Linked DNA regions of Homo sapiens: regions 1, 2, 4 and 5 are each linked to region 3. The links are contacts of gene promoters, found by promoter capture Hi-C in human tissues and cell types (Jung and others, 2019). All regions are on one chromosome and are shown on one strand. Each heading gives the region's core, a stretch centred on a gene start or on the middle of the fragment in contact. The rest is flanking DNA. Distances are from core to core; before and after follow the strand shown. Region 1 has its middle 110 kb from the start of LINC02503. Region 2 overlaps LINC02503 (long intergenic non-protein coding RNA 2503). Region 3 holds the start of TET2 (tet methylcytosine dioxygenase 2). Region 4 overlaps LINC02503 (long intergenic non-protein coding RNA 2503). Region 5 overlaps LINC02503 (long intergenic non-protein coding RNA 2503).

Region 1 (2,873 bases), core at 102-2,601, 1.1 Mb after region 3:
TAAAAACCCTGAAAGAAACCCTGGACAATACCATTCAGGACATAGGCATGGGCAAAGACTTCATGACTAAAACACCAAAAGTGATGGCAACAAAAGCCAAAATAGACAAATGGGATCTAATTAAACTAAAGAGCTTCTGCACAGCAAAAGAAACTAGCACCAGAGTGAATAGGCAACCTACAGAATGGGAGAAAATTTTTGCAATCTGTTTCTGACAAAGGGCTAATATGCAGAATCTACAAGGAACTTAAACAAATTTACAAGAAAACAAACAGCCCCATCAAAAAGTGGGCAAAGGATATGAACAGACACTTCTCAAAAGAAGATATTTATGTGGCCCACAAACATATGAAAAAAAGCTCATCACTGGTCATTAGAAAAATGCAAATCAAAACCACAATGAGATACCATCTCATGCCAGTTAGAATGGTGATCATTAAAAAGCCAGGAAACAACAGATGCTGGATAGGATGTGGAGAAACAGTAATGCTTTTACACTGTTGGTGGGAGTGTAAATTAGTTCAACCATTGTGGAAGACAGTGTGGCAAGTCCTCAAGGATCTAGAACTAGAAATATCATTTGACCCAGCAATCCCATTACTTGGTATACCCAAAGGATTATAAATCATGCTACTATAAAGACACATGCACACGTATGTTTATTGTAGCACTATTCACAATAGCAAAGACTTGGAACCAACCCAAATGCCCATCAATGATACACTGGATAAAGAATATGTGGCACATATACACCATGGAATACTATGCAGCCATAAAAATGGATGAGTTCATGTGCTTTACAGGGACATAGGTGACGCTGGAAACCATCATTCTCAGCAAACTAACACAGGAACAGAAAACCAAACACTGCATGTTCTCACTCATAAGTGCGAGTTGAACAAAGAGAACCTACAGGCACAGGGAGGGGAATATCACACATTGGGGCCTGTCAGGGGGTGGGGGTCAAGGGAAAGGATAGCATTAGGAGAAATACCTAATGTAGATGACAAGTTGATGGGTGCAGCAGACCACCATGGCACATGTATACCTGTGTAACAAACCTACACATTCAGCACATGTATCCCAGACCTTAAAGTATAATAAAAAAAGAAGTTATAAGAAATATAAAATAAATATACATTAATTTTAAATGGATTTTCTACTTGTAAAATGTTGCATTAAGCTTGTATGAGTTAATAATTCATTCATTTTATTTCTTTAAAAAGAAATTATAAGTCCTCCAATAAACTATAAAAGAAGTAACATTAGCTGAGGAACACTAACATGATTTCAGATAGAAGAACACCCTGAGTCAAAGTAAGACAAATGGGAGATTTATTCTAACTTATAAGAGAATATTAATTCTCATGATTACCAGACAGAACACTCTAATCCCCAAATTAAGCTCAAAGAAGGTAGACTGAAAAAAATCTAATAACTAAAAGAAGTATTTTTTTCAGAGATATGGCCTAGTCAGTTGGTGTTTGATAAAGTGGACAGAATGTTCTGCTAATCAGGATAAGGTAGATCAGGGCTATTTGAACATTGTGGCTCTTAGCAGAGTAGTGAGTAGAAACCAGGTTTAAACATAGATGTTTCAATGGGACATTGTATAAGAATATAAACTTATTAGAAATCTTGCAAGTAGGAACAGTCTACTTCTACTATAGATTTTCTCTTGTGTTTTGTTTTAATATTAATTATGTTTGTCATTGATAAAATGATAAACATCTTAACTCCTTGGAAATTAATTTTGACTGTATAAAACCTAAATGGTAATTTTTGGACTGTAAATAGTTGTTTGATTCTGAATCACTAGGTTGGGGTTGTTTCTCAGTAAATAAGAGGGTATAGTTACGTAGAAGAAATACGTCCTAGCATTTGATAGCACTGTTGAGCAACTACTGTTAATTATTATACATTGTATATTTCAAAATAATTAGAAGAGAAACTTTGAAATGTTCCTAGCACAAATAAATGATAAATGTTTCAGGTGATAAATATCTGAATTTCCTTGATTTAATCATTATACATTGTATGAGTATATCAAAATATTACATATGCCCTATAAGTATGTATAACTATTATTTATCAATAAAAAAACATTTGGATAGAAAAAATATAGCATCCCTCTCCTTTTTTATTTTGAAAATAATTTTTAAATTATGAACAAAAAAATTAACATGATCAATGGCATTCAGATCATTGAAGTTTTTCTATCAACTGTGTTTAAGACAAGAAGGATAGGAGTATGCAAAAGGAACAAGACATGTATAAGGAACTTGTTTTGTAAAACAAACCTGGAATCTATTTGAGCTTTTCTTCTTTTTTTATGCTTTGCAGTAGTTTATACAGCATTGGTATTGTTCAGTGTTTCAGCATTTTTTTATTATAAACTGAAAAATTATAATTGTATATATATTGGGGTACATGGTGATGTTATGATATATGTATACAGTGTGGAAGGAATAAATCAAGTGAATTAACATATGACCTCACATACTTGTTATTTTTGTGGTGAGAAAAATTTATCTTTTAGCCATTTGAAGTTTGCCAATCATTATTATTAACTGTGATCACCAAGCTGTGGAATAGATGTCAAAAAACTTTTCCCTCCTAACTGAAACTTTATACCAATATCTTGCCATTTCCCCACCTCTTAGCCTCTGGTAACCACAAATCTACTTTCTGTTTCTGACTTCGATAGTTTTAGATTCCACTTAATCATATGGTATTTGTCCTTCTGATCCTGGATTATTTCACTTAGCATAATGAAATTTTCAAAGAACTAGTACTCTAAAACCTGTCTGGTTTTAGGAGTACATTTGATGAGATGTAGTTTTTTCTCTGTTATTATTATTGAACATATAGTT
Region 2 (2,700 bases), core at 54-2,553, 1.1 Mb after region 3:
AAATAAATAACATAGCTTGCAAGGATACACACACACACACACACACACACACACACAGTACATGTAGTCACTCTCCTATAGGACTCAAAGCTTTGTTCAGTTTGAATCTTAAAAATGTGACTCATAGATATTTTGCTGTTTTCTGACTTTGCCCATTTGAACAAAAGTTGCCTAACATTAAATCCTAAAAATAAGTCCAAAGCTATTATTGATTCATTAAGAATAATTACAAATAAATCTACCTTTCCAGTTTCATCTTGCCAAATTACCTTCCTGATTTCTTACTATATGCCCATGCATTGCAGACTCCTAATATTTAACCAAGCTATGTTCTACTATTCTTCTGTGCCTTTGACCATGTGAATCATTAATTTGATTATTTTATCCTCATTATTTTATCTATTTGATAAAAAAATTCTTGTTTTTCAAGGCTCAATTTATACTACTTCCTTAGTGAAGCTATCTCCAAATTCCTTGTCAGTATTGGGACATCCTCTTTATATAGCTCTTCCTACCTGTACTAAACATGACTCATTATTTTATAAATATTATTAATATGGATGTTCCTATTTAAACTCTTAAAGATAGTAATATCGTGATGTATATTCTTATATTTCTGTGCCTATCCTAGTGTCTAGCACATAGCAGATCCTATAGTAATTGAAAATTTCTTTTAAATATGTACTTAAATGTAAGCTAAATTTTCTAGCAGTTCATCAGTTTGAATGATGCTCAAATTTACTTTTTCTCTTCTTTTTGTACAGTTGTGGGAAAGCAGAGATTATAAAAAGACTATGGGGAAAGATGTTTTTGGCTGCCAAGCACATAGTCTCCCCTTCAAAACTCTGTGATAACAGAATAAATAGTGCTTCCTATTATGCACAGAGGGAATATTTAAACCTAAGGGACAAGTGAGACAGATGATTTGTCATGGTTAGGGTGGTTAACATTGGCCTCAAGGCTATCGGTTAATCTAAATGAAATGGTCAACAAGACTAGAAAGGATCAGTAAAGCTACTGATATGGTAACTGTGTTTCTAAGGTAGAGTCCATTAAGAAACAAGGATGCCACAGTCAGGTGGTCTGCTAGGGTACGGTTTTGAGAAGCAAATACTGGGCACAGCTTAATAAGGGAGTACAAAAGACTAAGCCACCATTTATTTCTGCAAACAGAATCAGATAAGTATTTTCAGTGCAGTAAGAGCTATGCACAGAAATACCAGGTTGTGCAACGAGAGAAAGAGATGCAACAAAGAATGTCTGAAATTTGTGAAAGTAAACAGACTTCTCAGAATAACAATAAAAATTAAAATTTTTGTCATAACATTTAGCACATTTGAATCTGAAATTGAAAAATTACTTTTGTATATAGATTTATTCTAAGGATCATCAGGGAAAAATGATGACTACTTAGGCTAAGACTAAGCTTCTAAATATCCATAGTTAAAATATTTTATCAGATCTGCTTGAAAGGATATTTGTAGTCAAATAGTGCCCATTTTGTATGCATGTAGCAATTTTAGATAGGTAGTGCTAGTTAAGAGTTTGGCAAAACCATGTGTCATTTACTCATAATGTATATAGATTCTTTTTAAAAAATGGCCATTCAGATTGAAGGGCCAAATTTTCATTTTATTAGCAAAGAAATACTTGGTATAGGAGAGCGTGAAAATTTACACTTAGATGTGATTTTGATGACTATTCATAAACTACCCTAGATTTTTTTTTCTTACATTCTTTCTTAGATGGGACCATTACACAGCAGTCAGTATATACCTGATACCAAGCCTGATGAAATTTGCCTGCTTTCAGTCCACTTGGACTGCAAAAGTACGGTGACGGAAGCACTGGCTTTGGAAGTTTTGGTTTTCAGCAAAACTCTCAACATAAAAGCACATAATAGTAGCACATTATCCAAAAGAGTCCTCAAACAGGTTCTTTAAAGGCAGAGCCTAAGACAGAGACTCAGGTGCATTATAGCTTACAGAAGGACTCTGGAGGAAAAACCCATGAAGAATTACACGGGATGGGGAAAGGGAAGGGGCTGAGCAATGATGTGGTCCCACATAAAGTTTAGACTTGTTCCTGATCCATTTCAGGGAGAGAGAGCCCTGAAGTACACATTGTGATTTGCTCAGCAATGATACCCTGCTTTGAGAGAAAGGAGCTGGGCTTTTCTGCTACCTGTGCCCCACGTGTGTCAGTCGTTGTTGTTATGGGTGGAGAGATGTTGTAGTCTCCTAAGCATATTCAGCCCAGTGGCATTTCTCTGGAGACATAATCCCTTTGAAGCATATTCAAAGTACCTATGGGATGAGGGCAGTGGCCCAGTGAAAAGAATCTGGCCTGAACTCTCTAAAACACCTACTAGCAAAAGGAATGTATGCACACATAAATTACAGAATTATATATTTTGAATATATTAACATTAAACTCTATATAGTTAACCTTATAATTTTATTTTAATTTATTCACAATATATACACAGCAAATGCCTGATGTGGATATAAGCGGTTTAGCAGGAATTTCCACTGTTTAAATTATGTTGCAATATTAGATTGGTGCAAATGTAATTGTGATTTTTGCCTTTAAAATTAATTTTATCACCTGGTTCTCACTTTAACAAAATTATTAATCCTTACTAAATTAGGATTTTTGTATTTGTTGGCTAGATTTATACATTTCTTTTCATTCTGTTCT
Region 3 (2,700 bases), core at 116-2,615:
GCAAATAACACTTATATTTCATTTTCGGCCTTTCCAGGAGTCTATCCAGGCCACACTTCATTATGTCATAGGTAGAAAACTCTCCATACAAACCCTATTAGCTTAATAAAACTAGACAAGCAGTCCCAGTGAAAAGATTCAGCAAGATGCGAGTGAGGTGTGTGTGTGTGTGTGTGTGTGTATGTGTATGAGAGAGAGAGAAGAAAGAGTAGAGAGGAGACACAGAGAGAAAGGCAGAGAGATGAAAGACCAAAGAGAGAAGCCAAAGAGAAATTTGGATGGGACTGTTATAAATCTGCTCTTCACTTCTTTGCTGGGATTGGGTTTCATTTCTTTAGGCGCCCCTGACCTTGCAGTCTTGCAACTCCAACGCTGCGCTCCCCACCCCCTCCCGCCCCCTCCCCGGGCCTGCGCCTGCCTTTGTGTCTGCCTGTCACTTACCAAGGAACCAAACGAAGCTGATTCGGGAGAAGCACAAAGCCGGGACACAGATTTGTCCATAAATTCTCTTACATACATTCCCCAGGCTGGAAGGCTCAGCCCAGCGCTGACTTATGTACCTTGAGAAAAGTGAGTTCTGGTCTTGTTTGGGGAACCAGAGAAACTATTCTTTCCTCTTTCACTCAGCGCCGCTAACAAAACGCGCGGACTTAAGGAAAAAAAAAACCCACTCAGTGTACTCCAATTCCACTCCCTGTGACATTCACTTCGTACAGCCCCCTAAAGGGGGATAAGAAGGTAGGAGGAGGCAGACACAAACCCAGACCCAGACCCTACAGCTGATAAAAGGGTCGAAAAACACCCTATCAGTGTTCTCTCTGAGGTTGTTCAGGATAAACGGGAGACTCGTTTCACTTACACGAAAGAAACAGGGGAAGAGGATTAAAGGGAAAAGTAGTGCCCCCAAAGCTGAACTATTTTAGAAAGGAAAGCAAATTTAAAAATCACTTTTCTGAGGATTAAAAAAGGCCGGGAAACCGGCTCGTCGGAGGCACAAAGGTAAGTTTTCTGGGAGATGAGGGGACGAGCATTAGGAGGAGAGAAGAGAACACAGAACTACAGGTTTAAAAGGGGTAGAGGGAATTAAAACTATATTTGTCAGCCATGTTGAAGAGGCTCCAGTAATTTGTGAAGCTTCCCTCTTCCCTCTTGGTATTTGTGGGTGACACTACAGGGTTTGCTCCCCAGTCCCTGGAAGCCCGAGAAAAAGCGAAGGGGAGAAGAAAGGGAGAGTTTCGCGGCATAAGAGAAGCGCTCTGACCTCGTTCTCGTCCCTCAGCCTTGCAGCAATCCAGCAGTTGCAGTCGGGTCTCCTTTCTAACAAATCCTAAAGGGCAGCCATCTTGCTTCCTTCTGCTTCTCTACGAAAGCAGCCTAGCCTCCGCATCAATATTCATAAGGCAGTTTGACGTCTGTTCTCATCACTCAGCGGGGCCGGCGTCTCGGGGCGGCCGCGCCGAGGGGGCGGACGTGACTTGCATGCGAGCGGGACCCGGGCGCGCGGCGCTCGCGAGGAGGCGGCGGCGGCCGCCCAAGCTCTCGCCGCTGCCACTGCCGCTACCGCCGGCTCTCCTCCTCCGCCCGGGCCTCCTCCTGCTCCGCCCCGGCCTCCTCCCGCTCCGCCCCGGCCTGCGCCGCCGCCCTGGGGCCCTCAGCCCCGGCTCCCAGGGAATTAGCCCCCCGCACCGGGCGTCCAGCACAAAGGCCGGCGGCACCTGGGGCCGTACAGCGGGGCGCGCAGTGGAGACCTGGGCTGCCCTCACGCCGTGCAGTGGCGCGGGGGGAGTGGTGCGCCCGGACCAGCGCGGAGTAGGGGCCAGGGCTGGCGAGCGCGGGGAAGGGTGCAGCCCTCGGGAACCCCGGGGACCTCGGCGGGTCTCCACCCCTGGGAGAAGAAGCAGAGCAAGCGCGAAGGTTGGGGGCGAGGTGGGAGGTTGGGATGGCACGGGTGCCTGGACAAAGACGTGACATCTAAGATTTCCCTTTGAAACTTTTTGCTGGTCTGCACTCCACCACCACTTCGAGGTCCCGCGCACACGCCCCCGCGCGCACCCACCTCCTCCGGAGTGTACCCGCACGTGCCCTCGCTCTGGCCCCCGCCTCCACCCACTGGCACCTCTCCCCGCACCACACCTCCGCTTGCGCCCACCTTACCCTCAGAGGCCCGCGTCTCTATCTCCCTTTAGATCCCGTTGCCCGCGCTCTCCTTTCCCTTTTCTGTCGCTTTAATCTCATTCAGCAGAAGCGCTCCCCTGTTTCACCGAGGGCATGCCCTTAGTGCTTTAGGGGCCTGTATTTTTAAAGACCCGACAAACTGGGAAATTGACCGAGTTCTGTTTCTCCCCGCCCCGGCCCACCTTCTGTTTACTTTAGCCACGTGGGCTGAGTAGAAGGGGGCGTCTCACAGATTGAAATAGGTTTCTCACTAGTGACCCCCTACTTCTCGCTAGGAGGAAATAAACCTGCACTTTCAAATGCTTAAGTTGCCTCTCGTAAGAGCCCTTACTTTGAAGTAGTTTCCCCCCGTACAATTAAGTAATGAAGAAACCGACCGATACAGAGCTAATTCCGAATGACGGATGCTTGATTTTCCCTGACATTCGGAGCTCTGTAACTATGCTCTTCCTTTGACCGGAGTTTTTCTCTATTGCCGAGTAGTGTTACTTCCCCCTTCTAATGCTCCTTTTTCTAATCATCAAC
Region 4 (2,702 bases), core at 151-2,650, 1.1 Mb after region 3:
GTGTATATGTGCCACATTTTCTTAATCCAGTCTATCATTGTTGGACATTTGGGTTGGTTCCAAGTCTTTGCTATCCTGAATAGTGCCACAATAAACATACGTGTGCATGTGTCCTTATAGCAGCATGATTTATAGTCCTTTGGATATATTCCCAGTAATGGGATGGCTGGGTCAAATGGTATTTCTAGTTCTAGATCCCTGAGGAATCGCCACACTGACTTCCACAATGGTTGAACTAGTTTACAGTCCCACCAACAGTGTAAAAGTGTTCCTATTTCTCCACATCCTCTCCAGCACCTGTTGTTTCCTGACTTTTTAATGATCGCCATTCTAACTGGTGTGAGATGGTATCTCATTGTGGTTTTGATTTGCATTTCTCTGATGGCCAGTGATGATGAGCATTTTTTCATGTGTCTTTTGGCTGCATAAATGTCTTCTTTTGAGAAGTGTCTGTTCATATCCTTTGCCCACTTTTTCATGGGGTTGATTGTTTTTTTCTTGTAAATTTGTTTGAGTTCATTGTAGATTCTGGATATTAGCCCTTTGTCAGATGAGTAGGTTGTGAAAATTTTCTCCCATGTTGTAGGTTGCCTGTTCACTCTGATGGTAGTTTCTTTTGCTGTGCAGAAGTTCTTTAGTTTAGTTAGATCCCATTTGTCAATTTTGGCTTTTGTTGCCATTGCTAAAACACCAAAAAATGAGTTTCTAACCACAGGAAACAGGATGTGTGAAAGCTGTTTCTAAGTGCTGATAGAACTATTGCAGTAGTCCAAATGAGGGATGATGGCTGGATGGTGGTTGTAGGATGGAGTAAAAGGAACAGATTTCAGAGATATATGTAACTATTTTCACAGGACATTCTGATGGTTTGTACACTACTATGGCTTTTAATATATACACAAACCATGACTTGTGAAGGGCAAATAAAGTTTAGTATGAATAAGATTTTAGATAGCACACATAAAAGAATAAATTCTGTCACATATAGTTTACTTGTCAGTAAAAGTCAATGCTATAGATTTAATGCAAAGGAAAGGCTAGAAATCTCTAAATTGCCAGCAAGTGAACATGATAAGCTTTGTGACAATTGAAGAGATGCCAAAGATGTTATTGAGGTCAATAGAGATAATATGTGTGTGTGAGCAGTAGTAATATAACAATCTATTTAAATGGATATATTCAATATGAAAGATCTTAACACAAACCTTATAGCAAGGACATTCTTATATAACTAAATTTGCAAATAAAATATCATTTGTTTGATTTTATGTAAATGATTTGTCCAATGTAATGTAAATAATGTAAATGATCAACTTTGATGTTCTACTTGTATTTACTTGATATTTTTTAATCTGCATAAATTTAAAGAGTACAAGGGCAGTTTGTTACATGGATATATTGTTCAAAGACTTACAACTGCAGGATATGATATTGTATGTTGAGGCTAGACACAGATCATTAGAGATGATTAACACTACTCATTTGACATATGAATAGAATAGCAAAATTAATCAGGAAGCTTAAAATTAATATAATACAAAATTCAGACTAAGACATTATTTGAATTATTTTAACCATATCTTACCCATTACATAGGATAAAAGGATGTTCTAACTTATTCTGAAGTCAACCATTCTATAGATGCAGAAGATAAGTAACTAAAGATACAATAAATCATATACACACATATATAGTACAATGGTATTATAATATCCATATAGTACTGAATAATGCAGATATAATACTAAAATTTTGCAGAAAATAAGGCTTCATATATTATTTATATATCTATTTGCCTGTTATCCAAGACTATAATCTACACAGAATAGCAGAATTATGGAAATTCACCTGCTAAAATGCATTTGAATGCATTTAGGAAAAAAGCTATGTTAAAAACAAATACCTTGACAAACTCATCAATTATTACATGGTATGTAGTTTAAATACATTAGAGGATATTGACAATTTTAATACCAATCATCTCTATCCCTATTTCTGCATTTCAGAGGCCAACACTTTCAGTTCTTTTAGTTTTTCACTCTAGTATGTCTATCCCTTTTTAGAACAGCACATTTGTACTGCTATTTATTGATTTACCATAATAATATCAGTTGACTTCCTGTTAAGATAGAGAAGAATTTAGTTCATTTACATTGATCCTCCCCTCACTTTCCTTCTATACTGTTGTGGAACAATGTTTAATTAACTCAATATCCAGATTTTATATTGTTATGACTATGTAAATGTTGTTCACCATTAAATCAAGTAGTGTTTTATGTTATGTTTCATTTGAGAAATTTTTTTCCCAGGGAGCTACTAAATGCTTATGTTTCATCCTTTTATTCATTCATGATCCAATTGATATTTTCCTCCTACGCCAGCAGACTTTTCAAATACCTGTTGAACATACTTCATATTTTCAAATGCCTTGACAGTTTTGTCAGTTCTGCAGGCTTTGTCATCTGGTCTGTCGGAAACAATGGCCTTATACATGTCAGATTTTTAATGAGAACACTATTCTTTTGCATGGATCAGTTTTATTTGCCCCACTAAACATCTCTTTTTCTGCAACCTTTTTTATTCCTGTTTCAATCTAGATTAAATCTAGATTGTCTGCTGCCTCAAAGCCATCAACCTGGTATTTCTTGTCACCACTTTCATAGCTTAGGTGTCTATTTCCTAGGTTCCTAAGTTTTAGTGTG
Region 5 (2,700 bases), core at 61-2,560, 1.2 Mb after region 3:
TTATCATATTCTTAGTTCTCTCACAGAATGAAAGATTTTAGCAGAAAAAAATAGGTTTTTATGCAAACATTGAGAAGAAGCTGGCAAAAGAAATTTCTTACCTTCATAGGATCCCATACACCATTAAAGGTAAACAGTCCTGAGTAGTAAGAAGAAGTTTCCTACCTGAATGGTGCATTACATTGAGTGTTCTCCCAACAAATGGAAGATTTTCATTTAAAATGGAATTTGTAGGCAGACATTCAGAAGAACAAGTTTCTTACCCCCATAGAGTCCTATAGCCCTATAGTCCTATAAGGTTCAAAGCCCTGAGGAGTACGAAGAAGATTCCCAGACAATCAATGTATCATATTCTGTGTTCCTTCGCAGAATGAAAGATTTACTTCACTGAAAATGAAGTTCTGTTCCTCTTGACTGCTTATAGTAAAATGCAAGAAGAGAGAAATGAATTAAAGATGAAATTGTTAATCAGAAGAGAAGCAGAACTTAAAAACTGAGAAAATGCTCAATCTTTACCTACTGGAAAAAAATAAGAAAGCCTTTTTGGGAGACAATAGGGGTGAGGCCAAGTGACATTATGATAATGAGTTTCGTATGGATTGACCATCTCAATGGAAGCCAGATGTTATTCATCCAGATATGGGAAGACTTGTCAGCATCTAAATAGAAACCAGGATCTAATGTCCAAGACAATGGAAGAATGACCTGAAAACATTTTGGAGATCATCAGGACTATCCCTCCTATCAGAGTCCCAGAATGCTAGAGCCTACAGGGTAGAATGATTTCAAAAGAGACACTGCTGCCCAGAACTGCTTTGCATTATAGGATCCATTTCCTGCACTCTGGCACCATTCTGCTTGGCTGCCCCAAGTGCAGCTCTGGCAGGACCTCATGTGGCGTGCACCGCATTCAGCAAAACTGTGGGAACATGGTTGCCTCCACTACATTTCAAAGGATGCACTGGGGAGCTGTGGGGCCCAGACTGGGAATCACCACAAGGGGAGGGCCACCACAAAAAGTCTCCACTAAAGCAATGCCCAACAGGGCCATAGGGACAGGGGTGACTCTGAAAACTCAGACCAGAAGAGCCACCAGCATGTGACTCCATGAAAACCGTGGCATAAGCTGCACCCAGCAAAGCCATAGGGGTTGGGCTTCCCAAAGACAGGTGCCAGACAACACTTCACAGGTGGGACCATTGCCTCACTTGGTCCTGAAAGAAGGACCTCTGTCCCAGTGGGCATGGAAGGCAGAGCATCAAGTCCACGCAGATTATTCTCAAACCTTAAGGGTTTGGATTTGCTCAGGATCTCTAACTTCCTTCTTCTTTCCTATTTCTTCTTTTTGGAATAGGAATATCTATCCTATGTTTGTTCCTTCATTGTATTTTAGAACCATAGAATATGTTTGATGTAACAGGTTCATATCTGGAGAGTCATTTGCCTTGGAATGAATTATACATTGAATCTCATCCATATCTGATGATATGGTATGTGATATGGTATATGATATCTGAAGGAGATACTGGATTTAGATTTTAAAATTGAGGCTGGACTCTGTTAAGACTTATGAAGTTATCTCTCTGTTTTTTTTTTTTACTGTGATGGTGAATTTGATGGATCAATCTCATGGGTCATGGGGTGCCAAGATTAAACATTAATTCTGAGAGAGTTGGTGACTGTTTTTCTGGATGATATTAGGATTTGAATCAGTGGACTAAAGAAAGTAGATTGCCTTCTCTAATGAGGAAAGGCATCATCCAATTTGCTGAGGATCTGAAAAGAACAAAAGGCAGAGGAAGGGGGAATTTACCCCCTTTTTTCTCTGTTTTACCGCTTAAGCCTAGACATCTCATCTCATTTTTTTCCCTCACGCTGGTATTTCTATCATTGGCTTCCCTTATTCTCAGGTCTTCTGAATCAGACTGAATTACACCATCTTTCTTGGGTCTCCAGTTCGCAGAGAGCAGATCATGGAACATAACTTAGAACACAAACAATGACTTATGACATCGTTATTAAACTGAAGAACCAAAATATTGCCAAAGCATTAGAGACAGATGGTTATCCCCTACTCTTCTGTTTTCCATGAGGAGGAAATTTCCTTAAAAACTCTTGACTTACCCACTCACTTTCAAATTCTCTCAAGGGAGAAAAATAACTTCTCAAGATGGCATAATTTTGAAAAAGTATTGGAATCTTTCTTGTCAGATAGATAAAGGCAGATAAATAAACCATTCTTGCCAGGGTCCTCACTGAAGACAGCACACACTTTTCCTCTGCTTCTCCTTGCCTTAAATTTTACAAGGCAGCATCCCATGGGAGGCCAATGATAGTGAGCAACTAGATAAATACACCTATTTCAAGGATGCAATATTAGGAGTCAAATCATCACCAATCTGTGAAACAATGTTCTTCAACATCAGCTACATCATTTACTCCCAATTGGTTTTAAACTTGGAAAGGGAAGTGAGAAATTCTTCAAACCCCACCATTAAACAATAAGCTTTAAACTAGTAAGGGGCAGAGATATGATTTAAACAACAATCTGAATAATTCTACATGCTTATTTCAAGGAAAAGAATTTTTTAGAAAAGAATTTTTTAAATAAGAATTCAGGACAAATATCTTAATGTCTCTCTCAAACTTACTGCAAGGTCATCTTGTATGTTAGAATCATGGGCCTTTGCTATAGCATCC

The links. Contacts are between HindIII fragments. The study calls those that stand out against the background at their distance.
Region 1: a contact is called between a fragment that was not itself captured here and the fragment with the promoter of TET2 in region 3, in 1 of the 25 tissues and cell types used here (lymphoblastoid cells).
Region 2: a contact is called between a fragment that was not itself captured here and the fragment with the promoter of TET2 in region 3, in 1 of the 25 tissues and cell types used here (mesenchymal stem cells).
Region 4: a fragment that was not itself captured here is called in contact with the fragment with the promoter of TET2 in region 3 in 1 of the 25 tissues and cell types used here (dorsolateral prefrontal cortex).
Region 5: a fragment that was not itself captured here is called in contact with the fragment with the promoter of TET2 in region 3 in 1 of the 25 tissues and cell types used here (mesendoderm cells).

Annotation. Positions count from the first base shown.
Region 1 is chr4:104,067,081-104,069,953 of GRCh38, reverse strand. No RefSeq gene overlaps it. Among named protein-coding and RNA genes, the nearest start is that of LINC02503, 110 kb to the right of the region's middle. The HindIII fragment of the contact is 8,203 bases long and covers 1-2,873 here.
Region 2 is chr4:104,010,502-104,013,201 of GRCh38, reverse strand. The region is part of intron 5 of LINC02503 (long intergenic non-protein coding RNA 2503); the gene reads right to left. Among named protein-coding and RNA genes, the nearest start is that of LINC02503, 50 kb to the right of the region's middle. The HindIII fragment of the contact is 4,054 bases long and covers 1-2,700 here.
Region 3 is chr4:105,145,541-105,148,240 of GRCh38, reverse strand. It overlaps TET2 (tet methylcytosine dioxygenase 2), which reads right to left and starts at 1,365. Exons shown (of 11, transcript NM_001127208.3): 1 at 1,262-1,365. LOC124900868 reads left to right here. Exons shown (of 3, transcript XM_047416559.1): 2 at 1,280-2,700. The coding sequence ends at 1,968. RefSeq lists silencers at 391-460, 1,424-2,103 and enhancers at 791-840, 1,184-1,353. The HindIII fragment of the contact is 6,833 bases long and covers 1-2,700 here.
Region 4 is chr4:104,028,645-104,031,346 of GRCh38, reverse strand. The region is part of intron 5 of LINC02503 (long intergenic non-protein coding RNA 2503); the gene reads right to left. Among named protein-coding and RNA genes, the nearest start is that of LINC02503, 68 kb to the right of the region's middle. The HindIII fragment of the contact is 3,482 bases long and covers 1-2,702 here.
Region 5 is chr4:103,984,630-103,987,329 of GRCh38, reverse strand. All of the region lies in intron 3 of LINC02503 (long intergenic non-protein coding RNA 2503), which reads right to left. Among named protein-coding and RNA genes, the nearest start is that of LINC02503, 24 kb to the right of the region's middle. The HindIII fragment of the contact is 5,780 bases long and covers 1-2,700 here.